Linked DNA regions of Homo sapiens: regions 2 and 3 are each linked to region 1. The links are contacts of gene promoters, found by promoter capture Hi-C in human tissues and cell types (Jung and others, 2019). All regions are on one chromosome and are shown on one strand. Each heading gives the region's core, a stretch centred on a gene start or on the middle of the fragment in contact. The rest is flanking DNA. Distances are from core to core; before and after follow the strand shown.

What was found. The method cuts DNA at HindIII sites, captures the fragments that hold promoters and counts their contacts. A contact is called where the count stands out against the background at its distance.
Region 2: a fragment that was not itself captured here is called in contact with the fragment with the promoter of SMCO3 in region 1 in 2 of the 25 tissues and cell types used here (dorsolateral prefrontal cortex and hippocampus).
Region 3: a contact is called between a fragment that was not itself captured here and the fragment with the promoter of SMCO3 in region 1, in 3 of the 25 tissues and cell types used here (aorta, mesenchymal stem cells and ovary).

The regions. Positions count from the first base shown.
Region 1 is chr12:14,812,430-14,815,739 of GRCh38, reverse strand. SMCO3 (single-pass membrane protein with coiled-coil domains 3) reads left to right here and starts at 1,558. Exons shown (of 2, transcript NM_001013698.2): 1 at 1,558-1,614. All of the region lies in intron 1 of C12orf60 (chromosome 12 open reading frame 60), which reads right to left. The HindIII fragment of the contact is 14,769 bases long and covers 1-3,310 here.
Region 2 is chr12:15,262,714-15,266,023 of GRCh38, reverse strand. No RefSeq gene overlaps it. Among named protein-coding and RNA genes, the nearest start is that of RERG, 43 kb to the right of the region's middle. The HindIII fragment of the contact is 7,678 bases long and covers 1-3,310 here.
Region 3 is chr12:15,089,435-15,092,744 of GRCh38, reverse strand. No RefSeq gene overlaps it. Among named protein-coding and RNA genes, the nearest start is that of RERG-IT1, 24 kb to the left of the region's middle. The HindIII fragment of the contact is 3,882 bases long and covers 1-3,310 here.

The DNA.
Region 1 (3,310 bases), core at 309-2,808:
AGACAGACATATTTTGTCCACATACTGTAGGCAATGGGGTTGGTAACTTATGCTTTATTGTCCATACCTACTAATCAAGTTTACATAATGTACCCTTCCTGAAATCCAAATCTCCAAATATTACACCATAATTAAAAGGATTTTTTAATGGTTCATTATTATCTACAGAATGAAATACAATTTCCTAGCATGACATCTAAGGCTATCTACAAACTATTTTCAATTTTCCATGACTTACCTTCCCTTAACTGCTCCCACTTACACCCTGTATCACCAGCAGGTTGGTTTTTGTTCCCTGAAAATGTTCTACAATTTTTGGTTCAGCTCCTTTGCTCTCAGTGTTCCCTCTATCTGTATTATTTCCTCTATACCACCATCCTCCCCAAACATCTATTAAAATCCTACTTAACATCCATACCTAGTTCAGATACACTGGCCACACATCCGTACGTGGTGGGGCCCTGGATACATCAAGGGCAAGATGATCCACTGGGACAAAAGTAGAAAAGTGACCCCACTTAGCCCTTCTTTAGAATCACAGGGCAGCATCTTTAGATTTTAAAGTTTCCTGTCTGCCTGTCTGGCATTTTGATTCTGTATCCTGTACCCACCCATTCTCCTCTCCCCTCCACCAGGAGATACTGTTGTTAATATATGAATAGCTACCGTTTCATAAGATTTTGCCACATATCAGCCACTATGCCAATTACTTTATAAACACTATCCCATTTAATCCATAAATTATTAACTAATACTCATATTACACCAATGGGAAAACTCAGGCTAAGTGACTTTCTTAGGATTACATGACTAGTAAGTGGTACTTGGAGTACACAAAACCAGGACTGTCTGAGTGTAAAGCCTGCTGTCTTTCACTAAGTTACACTGGGGCTGAGTGATTTCCCTGCCACTCAGGTGTCTTTGCTGTGGAGGAATTAACGGGTCTGAAGACTGAAGCTGGGAAGAAGCAGCAGGGAAGACTGATCTGAGCTTTCAGGGAAAAGAGTGAAGTTGGACTTTAAGGTTTTTATATTGTCAAGACAATTTACAAACACAGGAAGAGAAAGAATGACAAAGAGGAGAACTCCTAGCTGGAAAGAAGAGAAAAAAAAATTGGATGCAAGTAACTGCATTTATATATCTTGAGAATTTAAATAATCAGCAACAGTTAGAGGTGCAAATGCAACAGAAGCTAAAAGAAACTTAGTATCTGGAATAGTTGACAAGATAAAACCCCAAAATCTGAGAGCTGCAATCAAAGAGCCATCTTCTCTACTAAATTGAATTAGCTCAGTTATATAGCGCTTCTCAACAATAAAAAGTCCATTAAAGAACAGAAATTTAAAAATAAGTTTTACACACTATTAGTCTTCCAGTTTATATAACTTAATACTGTATACTAAGTTTTTATTAATAGGAAATGAAGGAATTCTGAGGGCCAAGCCATGTAGAAATAGCCTATAAACCAGACAGGCAGAGGGACCCAGCAGAGACTAGCAAAGTCTGTAAGTCATCACATTCCATCAGAAATATCCAGATGAAACCAGATGAAAAAGCACTTTAACAATACTCCTAAACAACTGCTAGGACCACGGAACTCAGAAACACAGCAAGGTAAGCAACGTGGATATTTCTATTAGTATTGATATAATACTCTGTTTCTCAGTAGTAGGAGGAATTTGAATTAGCCCGTCAGTCTTGAATCCTAACCATAAATAAAATAAAGTAAAAAAACAGCTTTGTTATAAGAGGATCCCATGACATGTTCCTTGTGATTTGGAAGGAACCTTTCCTGGTGCCTTCTCTGAAGACAGCAGAGAAGGAAGAAAATTAACAATTTCTAGGACTGATTAAGTCAGAGTGGAAGAGAAGCAGTAAAGACATCAATTCTAAGAAGGATTAAGGATGAAATGATACCTGTGTGAATGTGTGAAGTTTACATGGATAGTAACATTTCCTTCTATGTCATTAATATTAATATAGGCACTCAGTACCTATCTATGAAAGAATGAATGTGGAATCTAATACTGGTTAATGTATAGTACTTATACTCCTTCATAAATTATGTTGTATCTAAATATCTCTGAGCATTTGCTGTGTGTCTCCAAACAGGCTGTTATCGTCTTGAGGGCAAGGAACATTGTCGTTTTCAAATGCCTCAAGGGACACAGTAGAGGCTTCACCAGTGAGCACTTGATAAATGCTGATGAATGACTTTAATATTCTTCTTTCTGGTCAGAAACATTTTTTAAATGAATTTATATCAGAAAGTATATCATCACATCATGATCAATTTTTGTTTTAATTAAAGGCCACAGATTTTTATTTGAATTAAAGGAGACTCAGAACTAGTTAGAAGCTGTTATTTTCTTCTGAAAAGCTCCTGATTTTACCTATACCCTATTTCCACACTCCCAGATAAGGAAACTGTGCATGATGGCAAAACCCTGTTTGGACAGTGAAGAAAAGTGACAGCAAGAAGAAATGTAAAACCTCAGAGAGCACTAACGACTAAACATCAGAGGTTTAGACAGGGTCACGTTTTTCTTTTTCTTTCTTTTTTATTTGTTATAAGAAAAGTTCAAACATACACAGAAGTAGAGACAATAATATAATAAACTCCCATGTACCCATAACTCAGCTTTAAAAATTATCAAAACAAGGCCAATCTTTTTTCCTCTATAACCCTACCCCACTATTCTTTCCAGATTATTTGTGAACAAATCTCTGAGACCATTTCATTTCATCTTAAATGTTTTCAGTATGTATTTCCAAATAGGCAAGAACTTCTCTTTTTGAAATTTAACCTTACTCTTCCCAAATCAACAATATTTAAACAGGACCATCTTTGACTGGGAAATATACCAGCACTATGCTCAGTATCTGGGTGACAGGATCATTCACAGTAAACCTCAGCAACACACAGTATAGTCAGGGAACAAACCTGTGTATGTACCTCCTGAATCTAAAATAAAAATTGTAAAAATTTTATAGCAGGATACCCAGTATCCTGCTATAAAAATTTATTTGGGGTAGCACAGTAAAAGCTTTTGGAATGCAATTTACGATACATATCAAAAGTAATAAAAATTTAATTCCCATTACTTATGCCACTAATTATGTAATTCTTCTAGGTACTTATGCTGAGGAAATAATCCAGATAATGGAGGAAAAAAAATCTGTGGGTATCAAAATGCTCATTAGAATATTAGTGATAGTGAAACAATTTTAGATTTATTGAACCAGGGTAAAGACAGGGAATAGTATACGTAACCAATAAAATTTTTTTTTTTTTTGAGACGGAGTCTCC
Region 2 (3,310 bases), core at 549-3,048, 450 kb before region 1:
TATGTTTGCTTTAGTCCCCATGCTTGCTGCATCACACCTGCCAACATCTCCACAACATTCTGTACAAGCAGAAAAGATCCCTTTGTGTCAAGAAAGCAAAAGTTTTCCAAGCAGCCCTACCCAGCAGACTTCCACTTTTGTCTCTCCCCACTTCCATAGAGGCTCCTTAAGTTACTAGGGGGAAGAGAATTATGAGGAAGGGTTGGCTCAGGCATCACACAGAAGATTTTGGATTACCAAAAACCTCTGAAATTTAGAAAAAAAAAAGAGTGATCCTGAGGTAAAAATGCAATGATAAATTCCGAAAAGTATAATCCCATTTATATCCTTATCACTTCAGCAGAACCAGGAAATAGTTGCAGGCCTGCCCTCTCTAGAGCACTATGCCAAGTTGAGTGAGAGGCCAACTCCACAGAAGAGGGATAGTCTATAATCTGTCTCACAGAGGGATTCGTTCTTGAGGATGCATACTTTCACATGACAGTTTTTTAGAAGTAAATCAAGGTAACCACTGACATACTCATTCGCACTAAGTTGAATGTAGAAAATTTCTTCCTCAAGTTTTAGAGCAGACCTCATTTATGCACATTTTTGTATGAAAAAATATATACCTTAAAAGTATATAAAAAAGAAAAAGTATAATTGCACAAGCATGTCAAACAACGACTGGCACAAGGGGAGCAGATACTACTAATTCCTTACCAAATATCTATCTTCTTCTTTTTTCTTAAACAGAATCTTGTCATTGTTGCTGTTTTTACTCTTCTGGACTGTGCATTTAGAGGTAGGCAAGTGACAAATTTCTACCTAAAGATTGAAGCCATTGGGTGGGACTTCCCCAAATAGAAAACAAAGATTAGAATTTTTAAATTGTGAAATATAACTAGAGAAAAACAAATAATGTGCTGATTTGGTTTAACAAATAATCATAAAGCAAACACTTATGTAACCATCTGTATCATATTTTAAAAATTTTGTTTGTGATGGTCATCCGTATTGTTGTGCGTAGCTTTACTTTTTTTTCATTGCTGCAAGAAATACAGTTGGCCTTCAGTATTCATGAGACATTGGTTTCAGGACTGCCCATGGATAACAAAATCAGCACATACTCAAGTCTCACAGTTGGCCCTGCAGATATGAAAAGTTATACCTCCCTATATAAGGGTTTCACATTCTGTGAATATTGTACAGTATTTTTGATCCACGTGTGGATGTGGAACCTGCCCATACAGAGGTCCTACCGTTTTTACTGAAAAATAAAATTCCTATGTAAGTGGACCCATGCAGTTCAAACCTGTGTTGTTCAAGGATCAACTGTATACACTGATCTATTTATTTACTTTGCTATTGATAGATTTAGTTTGTTTCTCATTTAGCTTCTAATTACACGTTTGTGTATGTATCCTGGGTGACTAGAAATCATTATACACACTGATTAGTCACTAGGATATACACCTGACAGTAGAATTTCTGAATTAAGAAATAATGTATACATTTAACTTACCAGATGATATCAAGTTGTTCCAAACTGTTTGGAAAGTGGTTGTCAAAAGTAGTAGATGACAGGATAGTTCTATTGCTCTACATCCTCACCATTCATTGATATTTTTGTACTATTGCCAATCTGATCGGCGTGCAGAAATAGATTATTATTATTTTGATTTTTCTAATTACTAGCTTGGTCACATTTTCTTAGGTTAATTAACCATAAATTAGTTTGCTTGGGCTGCTGTAACAAAGACCACAAACTGGGTGGCTTAAACAGACACTTATTGTCTCACAGTTCTGGAGGCTGGAAGTCTGGGGCGCTAGCAGTGTTGGTTCCTTCTGTGGGTTGTGAGAATCTCTTCTGTGCCTCTTGCCTTGCTCCTGGTGGTTTGTTGGAAATCTTTTGTGCTTCTTGGTTTACAGATGCACCAGCCCAATCTCTGCCATGATGTCCACACGGCAATCTCCCTGTTGGTGTGTCTCTGTCCATATTTCCTCTTTTTATAAGGCAATGATCATATTGAGTTAGGAGCTCAGCTTACTTCAGTGTGATCTTGTCTTAACTAATTACGTAAGCAACAATCCTATTTGTAAATTTTATTGCATTCTGCAGTATTGGGGGCTAGCACTTCACTATGTGAATTTTTGAGAGACACAGTTTAATGCATTACAGGTTGCCTGGATCTCATCTTTTGTAAGGAAACCATTAAAGCCTTATTTACTCATTTTCTTTTAGGTGGTGGTGTATTTATTCTTGATTTGTAAGATTTCGCTGGTATACCAGATCTTTTTTCAAGATATATGTGTTGCAATCATAACCTCTCTTTCTATGGCTTATCTTTTCACTCTCATTAATATTGTTTTTATGAATGGGTTTTAAAAATTTGAATGTGTTTGAATTTTTTGATTTTTCCTTTTTACTTAGTGACTTTTGTATATTGTTTAAGAAATATTCTCCTACTCTACTTCATGGAGATATTTTCTTATCTCCTAAAGTTTTATAGATTTGTCTTTCACTTTCAGGCTCTTCATCTATCTGGAAATACCATTTAAATTTTTTTTTCAAGTGGTCATTTCACTGTCCCAGTTCTATTTGTTGAAGCTTGCCAATTACCCATTGGCACATTATGGTGTCTCTGTCATTTTGTGTCCATATATGTGAAGGCCTGTATTTGAACTCCTGATCTGTGTCACTAGTCTATGCTCCTTATCTCTGTGCTAAAAAAAAAAACACTGTCTTAATTACCATAGCTTCAAGCAAATTCTATTATCTGATAGATGACTTTTTTGTCTAATATGTCTTCTTCAAGAGGATCTTGCCTGTTCTTATCTCTTCTCATTTTTATGAGAATCTTATGAAATTTATAGATTAATTTTGATAAAATTTACATCTGAAAAATATTTTTTCCCATAAACATGGCATATCTTCCTTTTACTTTTGGTCTTTTTAATATTCTTCAATAAAATCATAATTTTCTCTATGGAGATTTTCACATATTTTATGAATTCCTAATATTTTTAGATTGTTTAATGCTATTGTAAGTGATACTTTTTTCCTAGTTATTTGTTTCTGTTAATAGAAATACAATTGATATATGTATATTTAGGTTGTATCCAGATACTCTACTAAATCCTTTTGTTAATTTAAAAATCTATTTAGATTATTCTAGATTTCTATGTTTACAATCACATTACCTATGAATCGTGAAAGTGTTGTATTCCCTTTCAAATTATTTATATCCAGTTTTCCCAAAACTACTTATCAAACAGACTATCCTTTTCATGTTGTATACTCTTGGGCCATTATCAAAGATGAGTTGAC
Region 3 (3,310 bases), core at 507-3,006, 280 kb before region 1:
ATATCCCATCTCCAACCTGAGCTTGGCAGGGAATACAAGAATCCCCATGCTTTCCTGGCACAGCTTGGTGCTCTACTCCCTGTGGAAATGTTTTTCAAAATATAACTTTTCTGGGAAGTGTGTTAAGAATTTAAATCCTAGACCTACTTCAGACCCACTGATGTAGAATGTATGGCAGGGGAGCTCAGAAATCTGCATCGTAACAAGCTCCCTAGGTGATGATTTTATCTTCAAAGAATTTATTTTCCATCAAAGTGTGACAATTTCTGCAGTAGGGCCAAAGAGACAGGCAGAACGAGAAACTATATCAAATATATCAAATATCAAATATCTATTTTCTGAAGGATCTGTGAATTTCAAGGGGAAGGGAATGAGCTCTATATTGTTTCAGTTTTCTGCCACCATACAGAGGGCTATGCCAGATCTTCACATTACTGCACCAGAGCTAAGGTTCTTCAAGGTTCTTAGAGTTTTGAGAGCCTTGACAAAAGCACCTGGGTAATTTGTGTAGCTCCTGGAGACGGGGTGAAACCAAATTTAAAATGAAGCTTCTTGACACCAATTTTATAATAATGTCTGTTTCATTAAAATGGTACAAAGAACTCAGGCCGCCATCATTCACCTGAATACCAAAATCTCCCTAATTAACTTAATGTTTTGTATTCCAGAACAGAGATTCCCTTTAAGTAACCTTGACATCAATTTGTCCAGATTCCTTTTATAGAGAGTCTCATGTAAACCAGGCAAAACGCATCTAAGGCATGAGGGGAAGGAGGTAGATATATTAATTTCTGATGCCTTCAAGGCAGCACCCCAAGAAATCAGCTCCTCCGAGCAGCCCGTAGATAGCTAAACTGCCAAACAACCTCAGTGATGTCAGAACAAGAATAGAAATAGAAGCGAGAGAAAACAAAGAAGCACTCTAGAGCTTATGAGAAGGGCAATCATGCCCAGAAATCTTGGTAATTTGAGCTATGGTCTGAGGATGTCAGGGGAAGAGTGAAGATTGTTGAAACCAGTATTGGGGAAGACATGGGGAAATAATTGCAAAGGTTATCTGAAGCTTTTTCCATCTCAAGTGTCCAGATTGTTCTGCATAATTGGAGAGATCTTGGATCTAGGCATGGATGAGTGACTCAAAGTCATTAAACCTAGAAAGTGATGAACATTTGGAAAGAGGTTTAGATTCAATGCTTACTAGTATGCAATAATGCAAAAAAAAAAATTACAACCACTTTATGGAAGTTCAAGGGACACAGAAATCTAAAAATTTTCAGCAAGCAAGTAATAGTATACATACATTAATTGTATATCCATTGCATATAGGATATTGTATGTAAAATATTATACTAAAGCTTGCTTTAAAAATCAACAAGAATATCTTTACTCAGTTTTAAATTTGTTTGATTTTTACAAACTTAATAAATACATATATTTGATCATCCAGTCTTATTGTTGTTACATAACGTCCTGAACTCGTTCAGGGAAAGCTCTTCTATCAGGAGAATTTTCAGGTACTTGAGCATCCTTCATGAGTCAAGAGGGAGTATACTTTATTTTCTCCCTTCACTACAGAGTCTTCTAAATATGTACTGCCTCTTCTTTGACAAACTCTTTTCTGTGGCACACAAGAAAACACAACATGTATTAGTCAGTACATTTTCAGTCGTAGCTGGCAGAAACTATCCGATCTGGCTTAAATGACTGGGAAGATCAAAGATAACGGCTTCAGGCGTGAATAGATGCAGGGATTTTTAAAGCACATCAGGATTTTCTCTTCTTTCTCAGGCCACAAAATAGAAAACAAACAAAACAAAACAAAACAAAAAAAACAGCTACTGGTCAACCTGGGGATAAGAGTTTTTGATGATATTTTCTACTGAAAAAAAACCTTCACAGACCTTGACTGTCCTGATGTGGGTATTAAGCCCATCCTTAAATCATTCACTGTGGCCAGAAGGTTGGATACTCTAGTTACTCAAGACCATGCTTGCTGCTAACCCCTCTGGCTGGAGGAAAAGTTCAGTCCCACCTAGAATGTGCAGTGGTTTCCCTGCAAGAAAGAGCAGTTCTAGTTCCAGGAAAATGCCGATCTAGCACTATTTGTTTTCTTTTGTTTAAATCATTGAAACAAACCAAATGGAGCTCCATGTGTAACTCCTAGTGTGCTGGCAGATGTGTTTCCCTTTGCTGCTATTATCCGAAGGTAAAAAGGGGATCATTTCTGGCTGAAGAACACAGCCTAGCCTAGTATTTTCCTCTCATTGCTGCTATTACCAGCTGATAGTAAGGACTTTCAGCTATCCATTCTTTGTGAATAGATTGGGGCACACTGGTATTTCCTGACCTGGAAAGAGATATCCCTATTGTATTTTTAGGGTTTCATGTCATTCAATAGCCAAGCTCAGCTGCCTTTAAATCTCTCCAGAGATTCATCCCAGGGTTCTTATGAACTCTCCTTTCTAACCTAAAGAAACCGCCTCAAGGGCTCATTCCTGGGTTACTCCAGTTCATAGCTCCTCTTCCATTTCCATTATTTCACCTCTAGAGAAATAAGCTTCTTTTAAGATCCTCTGTATGAATTTTCTTTGTTATCATTGGGTCTTTCTTTTTGTTTTTTGTCATTGTTGTTGTTGTTTTGTTTTTTGTTTTTTTTAATCAAAGCCGACTGTGTTTAGCTATCTGAATATTCTCTATGAGGAAATGATGCACAGCAGCTTTCCCATCCCACTCACTCTTGTCTTAAAATCACTTTTTACTTATAATTCACAACTCTGCACAAGCAGACTAGCTGTAAATTTTCTCTTTCTCCCATTCTAAGACATCTTATATCTGTCCAATGCTATAGTCAGGGATTCACAGTGTCATTTATAATTTAAAACATGCAGAGGTCAGGACCAGCCGGGGCAAAATGGTCAAATCCCATCTTTACCAAAAAACACAATAAATTAGCCACGTGTGGTGGTGTGCACCAGTAGTCCCAGCTATCTGGGAGGCTGAGGTGGGAAGATGGCTTGAGCTCAGCAGGAAGTCAAGGCTGCAGTAATCTGTGATCTTGCTACTGCCCTCCAGCCTGGGTGACCACAGAGTAAGACCCTTTCTAAACAAAAACAAAGACAAAAAAAATCCAGGCCTTTTGTTTTTGCTTTTTCATAAATAGAAGACTCTATATTCACATGTTAACCTAGGACCTATGTGGAAAATCGTTTCTACAAAGTTTATTTTTTCACAACTATTTTCATAACCAGTGAAATAGCCTGCTTTTGACTGTGCTATTACCTGTGCCAAGAACACTATGCACTTCATATCT